Linked DNA regions of Homo sapiens: region 1 is linked to region 2. The links are contacts of gene promoters, found by promoter capture Hi-C in blood cells and fetal thymus (Javierre and others, 2016). All regions are on one chromosome and are shown on one strand. Each heading gives the region's core, a stretch centred on a gene start or on the middle of the fragment in contact. The rest is flanking DNA. Distances are from core to core; before and after follow the strand shown.

Region 1 (7,790 bases), core at 3,278-5,777, 73 kb before region 2:
GGTACCAGTGTAACTCTAGTTCTGGTAGGTTCAGCTTTGGAGCCTAGGGACTTCAGCAGGACCAGGAATGGTGGGCAAAGAAGCCAGCAGGGGAGGACCTAGAGGGACTGGGTTTGCTTCCTTTGCTCTGGCTGACATTCGCCCTGAATGTCCTTCTAGTCCCTCCAACCATCACAGGGGTAAGTGTTATTTCTAGGCCTCGGATGACCTCTGCCCTCTGCCCTCCACCCTGGTCCCAGGTTCTCGGACTCCCCAGAACAAAAAGGCTGGCAGGCACAAGTGTCAGAGATCAAGGCCCTCTGGCAGGCTGCCGAGGTGGAGCGTGACCGGCTCACCGAGTTTGTCACTGTCCTGCAGAAACGGTAACACATGGCACCCAGGGATCTCTCCCATAGGCCTGCATGTGGTGGGGACTGGGGCCAGGCCTCATTTATGACTGGGTCCTCCTCACCTGAGAGCTCGGCTCCCAGTGTTGGTCCAGGGCATTCCTAGCCACAACTCATGCGCCCCACAACCTTGGGGCCTTGTCGTCACACTGTGTTTTGCCCTTAGGAACAGCCCCATTCTACATGCACCCAATGGGACTGTTGTATGGCATGTGGACATTGCTGGGAGTCTCGGGGGAGAGACACCCAGAAGTAAATCAGTCAAATCAATCCATCAATAATTAAAATCTGTGATGAGCCTGGCACTGTGCTTGGTGCTGCTGGAGGGTTTGGTGGGAAGAAAACACAAGCTAGACTGACATCTGGAATTGGAAAGAACAAGAGAGGTGCTGATAGCTGGGGAGGCAGGGAGGGAAGCACGAGGCCTGAGGCACTGGACCAGGAGGTATGGTTTTCTCTAAAGGGTTGTTGACAGACTTCCGTTCAGATAAATCAGTGCTCCTCGCTCAAATGATCCTTTTGGCAAGAATTGCAGGTGTCCAGGCCAACACATGGCTCAACCATGTGACCTCCACACTGAAAAATATTAAGCACACCACTGAGTTTCTGCCCTAACAGGCTATATCATGTATCAGTCAAGGCTCTTTGATGACAGACAATAGAAAGCAATTCTGGCTGAATTCAGTGAAAGGCAGATTTTTGGAAGGTACTGGCAGACTCCAATGCAGAGAGCAGGAGAGGAGCCTGAGAAGGTGCAGGCATCTTTGGTAGCAGGAAACCCTAGGCAGTTCCCTGGGCCACTGAAATGGCATGGCCAAATGGCTTTTAGCTCTTGTGCCCATGGGTTCTGGGAGAGAAGGTTGAACTGGCCAGTGCTGCGCCCGTATCCACCCCACATGTGAGGGCACTCTGACTGAAGTTCCTCCGGGTGCTCACAGAATGCAGGAAAGGTAGTTTGCCAAAGGGAAAATGGGGGTACTGATAGCAAAAGAAGGAGCTAGGGGTGCAGGGAAGGACAAAACAAAGGATGCCTGCTACCTAAATAGTGAGTGGTCAGCTTTGCTTTCACATAGTACATAGAGATGATGTGAATTTCAGACATACTCAAGTATATGAGAAAAGCAACATTGATTCTTTTTCTATAATTGGAATGTAATGGATAGTACAAGTCTTTAGTCTATCAAGTAGTAGAAACATACTCAATGCAGGCTTTCTCTCTCATTTCTCTTGAGTTACATCCGAGTTTGGGGGTGTGTGAAAAAGGTGACTCAGTTAGCTATTGCTGCATAACAAACCATCCCAAACCTAGTGGCTTCAAACACAATGGTTTGTGCTTTCTCACGATTCTGTGGCTTGGCTGGGTAATTCTACCCCACATAATGTCAGCTGGGGTCACTCACTGGTCTCATGCAGCTGGCACTTCAGCAGGGATGCCTCAGTTCTCCTTCATGTGGCTTCTGTCTCCATGTGAGATCTCATTTTCAGGGCCTCTCCACACAGGGCTAGGATTGGGTGAGGCAAGCAGGGCACCTGGGGTATGAAATGTAAAGAGGTGCTCACACCCAGTCACATACATGCAACTCTCTGTCTGCGAATATGCTGGCCCTTTTTGGGTCCTTGGGTTCCTCCTGCTACTCTGTGTCATCCTGGGGTGTTGGGGCTCTGTGAGGCTGTGCCAGGCCCATCAACCAACACCTGTTGCCTTTTTTCCTTGAGGTTATTGCTAAGTCCCTGGGCTGTAACAAGAAAAGGGAACCCAGGTACCTTCTGCACTCAAATTCCCTCAAATCTATTTGGTTTAAAACTAAATGTTTTAAACTAAAACCATTTTGTTATAACTAAATTGGCCAATCATCAAAAATGATGATTCCTTTCAAAACTGATGATTGGCCAATTAAACCAAAGGAACTATTTTAAAGTAAAACTAAACGTTTTAACTAATGTTTTAACTATCCCAAAGTACAGGACCTTCGTTTCTCAGAGATCCTCAATATCTACTCCTTTCTTTATCTGCAGAGTCTGTCCCAGCCTTGCACAGGGGAGGGTGGGGGGGAGTCTTTCTCTGCCTAGCTTCCCTTCTCCTCTACTCTGCCCTACAATTTCCAGCTGCCTCAGTTGCCCTCCCCCACCCAGTTCCCTAATCCTGTGTGCTCATCCCAGCATCCCAGGGTGCTCTGCGTGGCTGCCCCCACCCCACCCTGCAGTGGAAAGTGCCTCAGGCAGAAAGCCAAGGCCAAGGGCGAGCCAAGCTCAAGTCCTTCCTTTCCTCAAGTCTTGTATCCAGTGTGTGTCGTCCTGTTGTCCATTGTCTGAAAACAAGTTCTTTCTTACATTTTATCAATTTTTCTAGTTACTTACAATAGGAGTTGGTTAGTCCACCATGACAAAAGTCACTAAATATGTCTCTTTTTTAAAAAGCACGTAGTCGGCTTTGTTCTTAAATTTAATCTGGGAATTTCTGTGTTTGAACAGTATCGTTTAATCCACTTTGATTTTGGTAATATTTAATCACTTTAATTAATATTTTCTATTTGCCATGATTTTTCTTTGTTCCTTTTTTTCTCCTTTCTTCCCTTATATTGGACTGATCAAGTTTTATTTCTCTTACTTCTTTGCAAGTTTGGAAGTTAGATATTCTATCTCTGTTCTTTTAGTGGTCACCCTTAACTTTTAACATCAAACTCAGCAATCTAAAGTTAGTTGGTTTTGCTACTATCACTTTAAGCAAAAGAATACATTTAGAATGTTTTAACTTTGATTTCTCCGTTTGTGCCTTTCATGTTACTGTTTCCTAATATTTCTCTTCCACATTCTTTTTTTAAACCCTGAAATTAAACCCTCCAAAGTAAGTCTTGAATACTGAATAGTGAATATTCGTTTCCTTTTGCCAACATGTTTGAAAATGTCTTCACTCACTGTTACTTCTTGTATCTCAATCTTCCTTCTAGGTTCACTTTCCTTCTTACTGAGATGCCCTTTAGTTCAGTGAGGCCATGTAAATAGTAAACTCTCTGAGTATTTGTTTATTTTTATTTTATTTATTTATTTATTTATTTTTCTTTTCTTTTTTTGAGACCGAGTCTCTCTCTGTCACCCAGGCTGGCGTGCAGTGGCATGATCTCAGCTTACTGCAACCTCCGCCTCCCAGGTTCAAGTGGTTCTAGTGCCTCAGCCTCCCGAGTAGCTGGGACTACAGGTGTGAGCCACTACGCCCAGCTAATTTTTGTATTTTTAGTAGAGATGGGGTTTCACCATGTTGGCCAGGCTGATTTCGAACTCCTGACCTCAGGTGATCTGCCTGCCTCAGCCTCCCAAAGTGCTGGGAGTAAGGGCATGAGCCACCACGCCTGGCCTGTTTATTTTTAAATGTCTTTATTTTGCCTGTCTTGAATGAGAATTTAAGAGAAATTTGGGCATAGAATTCTAAATAGATGGGTATTTTTTTCTCAGCACTTTCAGGCTATCCTATTGTTTTTTATCATCTACTATTGCTAAAAAGAAATCTGCTATCAGTTTTATTGTCATTCCTTAATAGATTTGTCCTTTCTCTCCGATGCTTCTTCAGATTATTCTCTTTGTCTTTGAAGCTTTGAAATTTCACTGTGATACGTATATACATATACGTATACACACACACATATGTATATATGTAATATGCCCATATATGTATATATGTATATATGTGTGACTTTACATATATGTAAATATATATTTTATATATACATGTAAATATGTGTGTATATTTGTATGTATGTATATGTAAAGTATACATATGTAAATATATGTAAATATGTTATACGTAATTTTATCTACTCAGAAGTTAGTGTTCTTTTTCAATCCAAGGACTTTATATATTCCCAAGGACTGCTGTCCATATATTGCCTCTTCCTCACTCTCCCTATTCTTTTAATCTAAAATTCCTAGTCCATATATGTTAGACTTATTCTTTCCTCCACATCTCTTTACCCTTACTATTTTGGGCTGAATTCTGGGTGATTTCTTCAAATCAGCTTTCTAGATCACTAAATATCTTCAGTTGTGCTTCATCTACCATGAAACCTATTTTGATAACTGTATTTTTCGGTAAAAGCTCCTGTTCTCAGCCAGGCACAGTGGCTCATGCCTGTAATCCCAGCACTTTGGGAGGCCGAGGTGGGTGAATCACCTGAGGTCAGGAATTCAAGACCACCCTGGCCAACGTGGTGAAACCCCATCTCTACTAAGAATCCAAAAATTAGCCAGGTGTGGTGGCAGGCACCTGTAATCCCAGCAACTTGGGAGGCTGAAGCAGAATTGCTTGAACCTGGGAGGCGGAGGTTGCAGTGAGCCAAGATCACGCCACTCCACTCCAGCCTGGGCAAAAAGAGCAAAACACCCCCGTCTCAAAAACAAAACAACAACAACAAAACCCTCTTGTTCTCTTTCTTATAGCATTTGTTCTTTCATTACAATTTTTGCCTTTCTCCTTTAAATAATTTTGAACTTATTCCCTTTAGAGTTTTCTACCATCTTCATTAATTAGGATCCTAAGTAATGTCTGTCGGCTCTCCCCTTGTAGTAAATTATTTCCTTGTGTGGTTTCAATTTTTGTGATTTTATGAGCTTATCTTCAGTGGGGCTTTTTTCCTTGTAGGAGTTCTTAGGTGATGACCGTGTTTCTGTGGAGGTGTTCTGCATTTGTCTCTGTGAAGCTTTTAGGGTTTCAGTGGTCTCTGATTGGTACTTTATGTGAATTTATTGGCTTAGATTCCCTGAACACATGAATGCTGCCCTTGTGTTTCAGTTTCACATGATTGGTGCTTCCTCCCCTCCTCCCCATTTCCCAAGGCCCTGATAGACTGCAGGCTTCCTTACTACTTTCCTGAACTTGTAGATGGATATTATCTTAGTCCTCTTTTTTTTTTTTTTTGAGACAGGGTCTCACTCTGTCACCCAGGCTGGAGTGCAGTGGTGTGATCACAGCTCACTGCAGCCTCAACTTCCCGGGCTCCAGTGATCCTCCCACCTCAGCCTCTGGAGTAGCTGGGACCACAGGCACATGCCAACATGCCTGGCTAATTTTTATATTTTTATAGACTTACATTAAATGCATCTTTACATTTTTATGGGAGTATATCTGTATCACAAATTCCTAAAAAAGAAATGGCTGAATCAAAGAATATGCACATTTAAAATGTTCACAAATCATGACAAATTGCCTTTTAAAATGAATCAATTTACATTCTTACCAATAATGTGAACTGTTTTCCCCATACCCTCACAGTTACTATGTTTTATTAATCTTTAACATTTTTGCCAAACTAACAAGGAAATGCTAATATCTCCTTGTTTTTATCTGCTTTGCTATGACCAAAAGTGAGGATAAGTATATTTTCCACATAACTTTTATGTTTTTTTCTTTTAACTACCTATTCATGCCATTGCACATGTTTTAGAGTTGTTTATATTTTTATTTGACTTATAAAAGAACACTTTATGTATCATATATATGGTATTATGTATATAATGTGTAATATTATGTATGTTTGTCTTCATGAAGATTTTGTGTCATTATGCTAAATTCATTCTTAGCATTCTTAGGTAGGGGGAAACCTCCTTATCTGAGTATTTTTTACCAGCACCCCCACAGTTACAGTCCCCATGAAAGCAAAATTTTTAATATTAAAACAGTCATCATTTGACTATTTAATATTCTTCACTTCACATTGGCATTGGGTCACTTTGGTCAGACTCTTGAAATACAATGAAAATCAATTATGAAGCAAAAAGGTAAATCTTTCAAAATATTTGGAATTTCATGAGATTGATGAACATGAGTTTGGAGAACTATTAGAATCGCAATCAAATACATTGACAAATTAGGATCTAGCTGAGTTAGGCCTGTTAACAACTGAAGAAAATCAGTGAGACCAGAGATTGGTCAAAAGAGAATAATCAGAATACCAAAGTGTGCAAGAGGTCTTGAAGCTTACGGACATCTGTAGATCCCAGGCAGGAGGAGCAGCCTCAGGTCTGGAGAGGGGGCGAGGACAGAGAAAGAGCTGGTTTTGGTGCATATTTGCAGGAAAAGTTGTAGAGCCTGCTGATAGATTGGAAGCTGAAGATGAGGAAGAAAGAGAAGGCAAGGGTGACCCCCGGGTATCTGGGCTGAGCAACTGCATGAGTGAGGATAATATTTATTGAGATGTGGAAGGCACGTTATAGGGGAGAAGGAGAGAAATCAAGAGTTTGCTTATTCCTAAAATTTTGTGGGAATTCACAATGTGGTTTGCTATTTTATATGATGTTTTGCTGTTGGTTTATTATTTCCCCTATTATAAATGGAGTTAAACAAAATGCATACATTATTGAAATTCATAACAGAAAAGTGAAAGCCCCTCCCCCACAGTTGAGTCAATAGCTGCCACATATTCCTTTTTGTTTTCAGTCAAGTGGCTGAATTATATTAACCTTATATTTATTTGTTTTTAAATTTTTAATTTGTTGTAAATTTTTTAATTAGATCATATAGTATGCATAATCTTCTGCTACTTATTTTACTTAGTATATTGCATTTTCATGTCAGTACGTTTTCCTTTTATGGTTACAGAATATTTTATTGTATAAATCCACTGTTATTTATTTACCATTCTTCTATTGATGGGTTATTAGTTTCTGATTTTAAAATACTTTATTGTGTTGTTTCCTTCTATTCTCATTTTACTTTGAGTTTTTAAAGTCAGGAATAGCTACTGATTTTACCAGTGCTTCTTCAGTATCTATTGGAAGGATTACCTGATTTTTTCCTTTAACCTAATTCCGATGTTGAATCTTACAGCTCTAGTGTTCTTGGAACTATGTTGTGTTACTCTCTTACAATGCCATTGAATTTAATGTTCTTTCTTTTTTCCTCTATTTTTACTGTGGTAGGCAGAATTCTAACATTCCCACCCCCGATATACATGCCTTATAAACTTCTCTTCCCTTGAGCGTGGGCAGAACCTGTGAATATGGTAGGATATTATTGCCACAATTATGTTAACTTACATGGCCAAGGGGATTTTGCAGAGCTATTTAAGGTTACTCATCAGATGACTTTGTGTTAATCAAACAGGAGGCTCTCTGAGTGGGCCTGACCTAATCATATGAGTCCTTTTAGTCTGAGTCTAGCTGTCAGAGACAGAGGAAGCCAGAGTGGAAGCAGTATTTTCTTGCTGGCCTTGAAGACATTCTCCTGCAAACTGTTACAGGAAAGGGAGTTTTGATCCAGACCCCAAGAGAGGGTTCTTGGATCTCCTGCAAGAAAGAATTCAGGCGGAGTCCACAGTGCAAAGTAAACGCAAGTTTATTAAGAAAGTAAAGGAATAGGCCAGGTGCGGTGGCTCACGCCTGTAATCCCAGCACTTTGGGAGGCCGAGATGGGCA
Region 2 (6,967 bases), core at 23-2,522:
GGCGCAGGGGAGCGCCCCCCTTCGCCGGTGCCTAGCAAGACCTCAGCCTCGCGCGCCGGCGCCCCCACCACAGGAATTTAACCCCCTCCCCACCGAGAGCAGCGCCACAGCGCCGCATTCCCGGCCCGCGGGACCCAGCAGATGGAGCCGGGAGACCGGGGGAGGGGGGAAGATCCCTCCAGCCCCTCCACCCGGGCCCGCGGGCCGTGTGCCTGGGAGGTCAGAGCTGGCAGGTGGGCGGATAAGCGGGGGGACAGGCAGGGCCCTGCGTACCATGGTGCCGTGGCGCTGGGGGCTCACAGGGCCCCGCGGGATCGCGCTGCCCCCGGCGGCCAGGCCAGGGCCGCTCCATGAAGCGCCGCGCTGGGGGCCGCCCCCGCGCAGGGCCCCGCGACCATGGCCCCCGGGGGCGCGGCCAGGCAGGCGGAGGCGCAGGGCCGCGGCGAGTCCAGCGCCAAGCAGCTGCGGCCCCAGAGCCTCGGGCGCGGCGGGCGGGGGGCGCGGGGCGCCGATTGGAGCCCGCGCGTCAGCTGGGGCCGCCGTCTGGACGCTTAAAGGGCCAGGCCGCCTGCGTGCCGGCGGGGGGCGCGGACACGCGTGGTGTGCGCGGTCCCCGTGCAGCCCGCCCTGCCGCAGGCTGCCCTCCACCCCCAGCCCCAGCTCCAGCCCCCAGCCCGTCCCCACTGCTCATATCCGAGCAGATAGACCCCGGCCCCACCCTCCCGTGCTGAGCCTCCTTTCTGCCGGGAAGTTCGTCCGGGAGTCAAACATCGCTGCCCTCCGGTTGCGCCACGGAGGGGGAGCCAGGATAGGAAGCTGCCGTGAAATCAGGAAGCTGAGCGCGCCGGGCCCCGGATCCGAACAGAAAAGGCTTCCACCCGCTCCCCTGAGGGATCCCACGCTGAGGGACTGAACCCCGCACCCCAGCCGCGCTCACCACCCCCACCCTCTCGCCTGGGCTGCTCTGACCTGGGGGTGAGTCTGGGGTCCCCAACTGGTCCAGTCCCCCATCCCTATCCCAGGGCGGCGCAGGGCTCATTTTGCTCTGTGCCTCCAGGACTTGGCTCCAGTGGACCCATACCTACCTGGCGGCCTCATGCTGCATAGGGCCACCCAGGGCAGGAGATTTAAATCCCAGGACTACAACCGCAGCGATCAAATCATCTAAGGTGACTGGCCCAGGGCCAGGAGACAGAGGGACCAGAGGAGTAGGGACCAGAGGCCCAGGCCCCACTGTGCCCCTCTAGCCGTGTGACCTGACCACTGCTGAGTGGCCCCCTTGCTCAGCCTCTGCTGGGGAGATGCAGCCAGGCTTGCGGAATGCTGCTCTGGCATGGACACCCGTGGGGGCAGGGGGCTGGCTCTGTTGGCAGGAGGCTGTAAAGGAAGGCTGCCAGGCTGAGCAGGCAGCAGGGTGGGGACCACGGGGCACTAGACCTGGCAAGGTCTGGATGGTGACTGGGCCACCATTGTAGAGGAGAGGCCTCTGTGGACATCCCCTCCTCCTACCCCAAGCTCACTACTGCCCATCCTGGGTCACTCTCATGTTGCCCCCATCCTGATATTCCACACCCCTCCCCACATATGTGCGCTTGTGTTTACATACAAGTCCATGTCCAGCTGCAGCAGTATCTCCTGGGTATGTTGTCCTACTCACGAGTGGGCAGGAACTCTGGCGCTGGCTCAGGGTGACTTGGTTCTAGGTGCCAGAGGAGAAATGGAGGAGAGACCAGGGTATTAGGCAGGTGCTGTGAAACAGCCTGATGGTCTGTCCTGTAAGATTGCAAGGGCCTCCTCCCCCACCCCCACTCTCTGCCAGAATACGTAGGGCCTCAGGATAAGGCTATCCCAGAGCTAGGGAGAAAATGTCTCAGGGGCCAAACCTGGGGCATCTGGAAGCCCCTGGCAGCTGCTGCAGACATCCTGTACCTGCATGGGTGCACAGACAGCTGGCCCAGCTCCCAGAGGCCCCAGGTTAAGGCCAGGCCAGAGCAGCTTACATGCTTCTGACCAGCTAGCCCGCTGAGGGCTGCCTTCTGCCTCTTCCTCCCCAGCCCACTTCCTCATCTGACTCACAGTGGATCCTAGCACCGGCCCAGGAGTTAGTTAGGGAGGGGCTGTGTGCCCATTGGTTGGATAAGGACTCTGAGGCTCAGAGCGGGACAAATCACTTAGGCATCAGCATCAGGAGCCAGGGGAAGGGGAGGTGGGGAGAAGGGACCCCTCCACGGGCTGGAAGAAGCCTGGCAGAGAGAGCTGCATGGGACATTGCTAGGCCCACTGCCAAGCCAAAGCTTGACAGAGGGTGTGGCCAGCGTGACTGAGGTAGTGATGCTGGCCCTATGGGGCCTTGCTGGGGCCTTAGCTCCAGCAGTCAAGCTGCAGAAAGGGCTGGAGGTTGGGTGAGAAGGGAGGGGACAGGTGGTGGGGAGGCACTCAGTCTCCCTGAAGGCCTCGGCTGTTCCCCTCTTGCTTCTCTGGCCTGCAGCTCATCAGCTGGGGAGTCCCAGGGCAGAGCCTGAGCTCTGTGAGCAGCTGTGGGCACCTGGCAACACTGGACCTGGCAGGAAGGAGTGGTTTGAAGAGCTGTCTGGTGGGCCCACAGGGCTGCTCAGAGCTGAGGCTTGAACTTGAACATTAACTAGAGCAATGAGGGAGTGAAAGGGCTTTCCAGACAGAAAGCCTGCAAAGGCCAGGAGGTGGAGACAATTTAGCATCTGCAGGGAACTAGAGGGGATTTGGTGTAGTGGAGTCAAGATTCCTATCGATCAGGAGTTGTCTGGTTGGTGGGAGTGAACAGGTGGAGCTAGGCAGAGGCAGAATTTCTCTCTTGGTCCTGATGAGGGGCATGCAGTAGGAGCTTCACTTCAGGGAGGTCAAGGCAGGCTTTCTGGAGGGAGGGACTGAGTTATTGGGGAGTTGACTCCTGGGCCAGAAATGCATGCCCCAGGGGTGAGTCAGGAGTCTGGAGACGCTCACCCAGCAAGGGCAGAGCTTAGTGATCCTTCACATATTTGGGATTGGGTCCTGACAAGGTCAGCAAAGCTATGCCCCTGCCTCTAGAAGACAGCTCATGGGTTTTCTCTCAATTTCCCTAAGTATCTACCCTCAGTGCTGGAGTGTCCCCAGGCTTAGTTGGGGAAACCAGATTCAACCCCACTGAAGTTAGAAAGAACAGCCCAGGTTGTGGGTATGCGTATGTGTGTGGGAACAATGCAGGACTGAGTCAGCCCGGAGGGCATGGAGCTGTGTGTAGCTGAGCCTGGGGAAGAGGGAGAGCAGAGTGGGCAATGCCAGAAAAATACAGGCAATGCAACTCAACTCGCACAGCATGTGGCCAGTGGGCTGGCAGGGAAGTTCAAAGCTACCCACTAGGCGCTGATCCGAAGCCCAAAGTTCTAGTAGGGCGGGAAAACATGAATCCCCAGGGTGTGGGGTGGGTTAAGGGTGGAGTTTACACCTGAATTCTGCCTCCACTGAACCCAGCACTAATAGGCTACAGCTGCCCTGGGTTGGGGGCCTCATGCAAACCGGTAGGTTGCCTGGTTCCCTCACAGCATAAACATCATGGCTTTGGCATTTCACGTCTCTCTTGCAGCTTCTAGGATCCTCTCCTGCCCTGTTGGTTCTGGGGGCCTTGGGCCTCTCCCTAGTGAGTGAACCTGGCTCCACACATGAACCCTCTGGGACTCCTTCACTTCTCCTAGAGTCACCACCTCAGGGGCCACCACCTCTGAACCACTGATGTATGCTTGGTTTTCTAAACGTTTAATACACCACAGTTCTAGGAGGAGGAATCCCTAGCATCCATTTTTCAGATGAGCTGAATTATAGAGGTCAAGCAAATTGTCCTCCTTCCAGTTACCCAACTGGGAAGTGGCAGAGTTGAACTTGAACCCAAGCAGCCTGGTTCTGGCCCAGAGACCTTAACGATTGTACCATAGCATAGTTGCTCATAGAAGTCCCCCTGCTTCTTCAAAATAAAACCAAATTAGGCTGGAGGCATTGAGGTCAGTGGGGACTCTTCTTAGGCTTTCTCTGGGAACCTGGCCTGATGGGAGATTTTAGTTGCTAGAGGTCCTAGGTGACCAGAGGCTGGTGAAGTGCCAGCCTATACACCCAACCCCTGTGGGCCAGGTCCACTGGGAGGCAGACTCGTCTGCAGGCTGGGAAGGGATGAGCACCCCTGGTTGTCTCTCATGTCTGAGTGTGCCAGTCATGTATACCCTCTTTCAGGGGTTTATGAGCCATAGGAGGCCCAGGATCAGGGCTCAAGATGCAGAATGCAGGTGTTTGTCCTGAGACCTCAGGTCACTCCATTTGTTGTTTCTCAGACAGGGTCTTGCTTTGTTGCCCAAGCTGGGCAGAGATGCAATCATGGCTCACTGTAGTCTCCACCTCCTAGGCTCAAGTGATCCTCCCACCTCAGCCCTCTGAGTAGCTGGGACTACAGGTGTGCATCAGCATGCCCAGCTGCTTTTTGTTCTGTTCTTGTCTTAATAGTCTTGCTATGTTGTCCAGACTGGTCTTGAACTCTTGGCCTCAAGCAATCCTCCTGCCTAGGCCTCCTAAAGCACTAGAAATATAGGTGGCCACTCCTTTTACCCTGATGTCCTCAAGGCTCTGGGCTGAAGAGATGCAACCCTCTCCAAGCTAGCCTGGGTTCTGCAGGCTGTGAAGCTCAGCTCAGTCTAGGGAGCTGGAGTTTGATGGGCTATAGTAAGTGGTGGGTCTGGGGTCTCCAAGAGGCAGCAGGCCTACCTGGGGCCTTCTGATTCACAGTGAGGAGTGGAGGCAGCAGCAAGGGAGCACTATCTCTACCTTGTACTGAAACTTTGAAAGAAAACAGACCACTAAAGCCTCCTAGCCCTGTGTGTATGTGGCCAGGGCAGGCTCTCCTTGCCTTGCACTTACCAGGCCCCGACAAGCTTCCCAGTCTGTCCTGAGATGAACAGGTGTTCTTTCAGGGTACCCAGCGTCCTCCCCTGACACCTCTGGACTCCTGAGGGGCCTTTACTGCATCAAAGAACTTCTCCCTGCTGTCTTCCCAGCTCATTCTACCACAAGGCCCTCATGGGCCTGCAGGCTCTTGCCTCACTGTGGGGAACAGCAGACTTGATTCTCTGTTCCAAAAACCAGAGTTCTCCGGAAATCTGAACCCAGTCCGTTTCACCTTGTGAGGCATGGCTTCCACATCCTTTCACCTGACCACATTAGTTTGCAACACTCCTTCAAGGCTCAGCATTTGCCTTGAAAAACTGAGTAGAGCCTCTTTTTTTTTTTCCAGTGGAGACGGGATTTCACCATGTTGGCCAGGCTGGTCTCAAACTCCTGACCTCAAGTGATCCACCCGCCTTGGCCTCCCAAAGTGCTGGGATTACAGGCGTGAGCCACCATGCCTGGCCACCTCCCGTCTCTTCTAAACAGTGATGCCCAGTTAGTGTCCATAATCTCTTGCAAGAGGGGCATTTTCCTTGAATTACCTTCCCGCCTATTTAATGCCCAGCTAATTCAGAAGAGTCAAGACCAAAGTCCTTGGCACATTTTCCCCCCAATACTGCCCAACTATCAAGTTTACCACTATCAGAACTTGATCCTGCATTTTCTTTACATTTTAAAGGAATGCATCCAGATTTGACAAATTTCAGGAGTTGCCCAACTAAGGAGTCCACTGTTAACTCAGTTTAAAAACTGAGTATCTGCAGTGAGAAGTTAACTACAATAAGTTATGTTGTATTCACTAAGAAAATAGACATTCCTTTCAGTTCTGAGGAGACAAAAGTTAATTGTACTTCCCCTGCAAATTCTTATGTGTATACTAAAAATATCACCATGAATGTTTTCTCTGGGAGTGAGTGACATGTGCTGCACTGCCTAGTGCGCTGCCGTTAGGGAGGGAAATGTAGAGGCTGTAGGTAAATGGACTGTCTCTAGGTAGAAACTCACACATGGGATGTGACATATTCCTCCCTCAGCAAAGACATCTTTATGCAGGTCATTTTAACTAGATGACAACAAAGTGTAGAGGAAATCTGGATTTTCCAGGGGAGGAAGACCAAACATCATTAATGCTTACCTGTGTAGGTTAAAATCTCTGCCTGACATTCTCTCTAGCTCCACCTCCTACACCCACCACTAACACTCAGCTAGGAGAAGAAAAGGAGCTGCCAAAGGAGATGAGGTGTCTTCACTGGCTGGGTCAGCAGAAAGATAAAACATGAACAGACTCAGACTTAGACTAAGTATATATTTTAATTTCTACAAGGTCCCCTTTCAAGTTTTAGGGAAATTTAACTGAAGTGTATACAAATTAGACATTGCTAATATGTACAAAAGTATTTTATACAGTTTTTGAACGATACTAGCTATTTGCAATAAACAGGATGTTACAAAAACAGTCCAATAATGCATTTCCTATTAAGAAGCACAATACACAACATAATTCAATTTTATTAAAAAATAACTTCAAAATGTAGAACAATCCCCTTTAGGAAGAAAAGCTATTTCTGTAGTTCACTCTGTCAGTAAACACACAAGTTGAACGCTGCAGCAGAGGGCTGTCCTTTTCCATGGAGAAAAGAAATGAGGCTTCTAGGGCCTATCTTTTCTGGGTAAAAATTCCACCTACAGCTGAGATGGGCAGTTATTGCCTGTGGTAGGCAGAATTTGAAAATGCCCCTCCCACTTTCAATGAGCTAATCTCCAGAACCCGTGAATATGATGAGATGAGACAGTACTCCTGCAATTATGTTCTATCGCACAATCAACCTTAAAATATATCTGTGGGCTTGAGCTAATCATATGCCCCTAAAACAGGAGGACGGGAGAGAGATATGAAGCATGAGAAAGAGCAGGAAGGCTGGTTTGAAGCTGGAGGGGACCACATAAGAAGGAATGCAGGCAGCCTTGAGGTGAGAGAGGGGCCTCCAGCTGAGAGCCAGCAAAGAACTGAATTCCGCCAACAACC

What was found. The method cuts DNA at HindIII sites, captures the fragments that hold promoters and counts their contacts. A CHiCAGO score of 5 or more calls a contact.
Region 1: a contact is called between a fragment that was not itself captured here and the fragment with the promoter of ZBTB47 in region 2, in 1 of 17 cell types (M0 macrophages). The highest score is 5.7, in M0 macrophages.

Annotation. Positions count from the first base shown.
Region 1 is chr3:42,723,039-42,730,828 of GRCh38, reverse strand. It overlaps CCDC13 (coiled-coil domain containing 13), which reads left to right. Exons shown (of 16, transcript NM_144719.4): 13 at 240-362. Among named protein-coding and RNA genes, the nearest start is that of CCDC13-AS1, 5.6 kb to the left of the region's middle. RefSeq lists an enhancer at 1-384. The HindIII fragment of the contact is 1,104 bases long and covers 3,976-5,079 here.
Region 2 is chr3:42,648,002-42,654,968 of GRCh38, reverse strand. It overlaps ZBTB47 (zinc finger and BTB domain containing 47), which reads right to left and starts at 1,272. Exons shown (of 6, transcript NM_145166.4): 1 at 1,086-1,272. ZBTB47-AS1 (ZBTB47 and NKTR antisense RNA 1) reads left to right here and starts at 581. Exons shown (of 3, transcript NR_125400.1): 1 at 581-975. NKTR (natural killer cell triggering receptor) reads right to left here. Exons shown (of 17, transcript NM_005385.4): 17 at 6,234-6,967. RefSeq lists silencers at 172-251, 292-651 and an enhancer at 657-1,298. The HindIII fragment of the contact is 5,084 bases long and covers 1-2,296 here.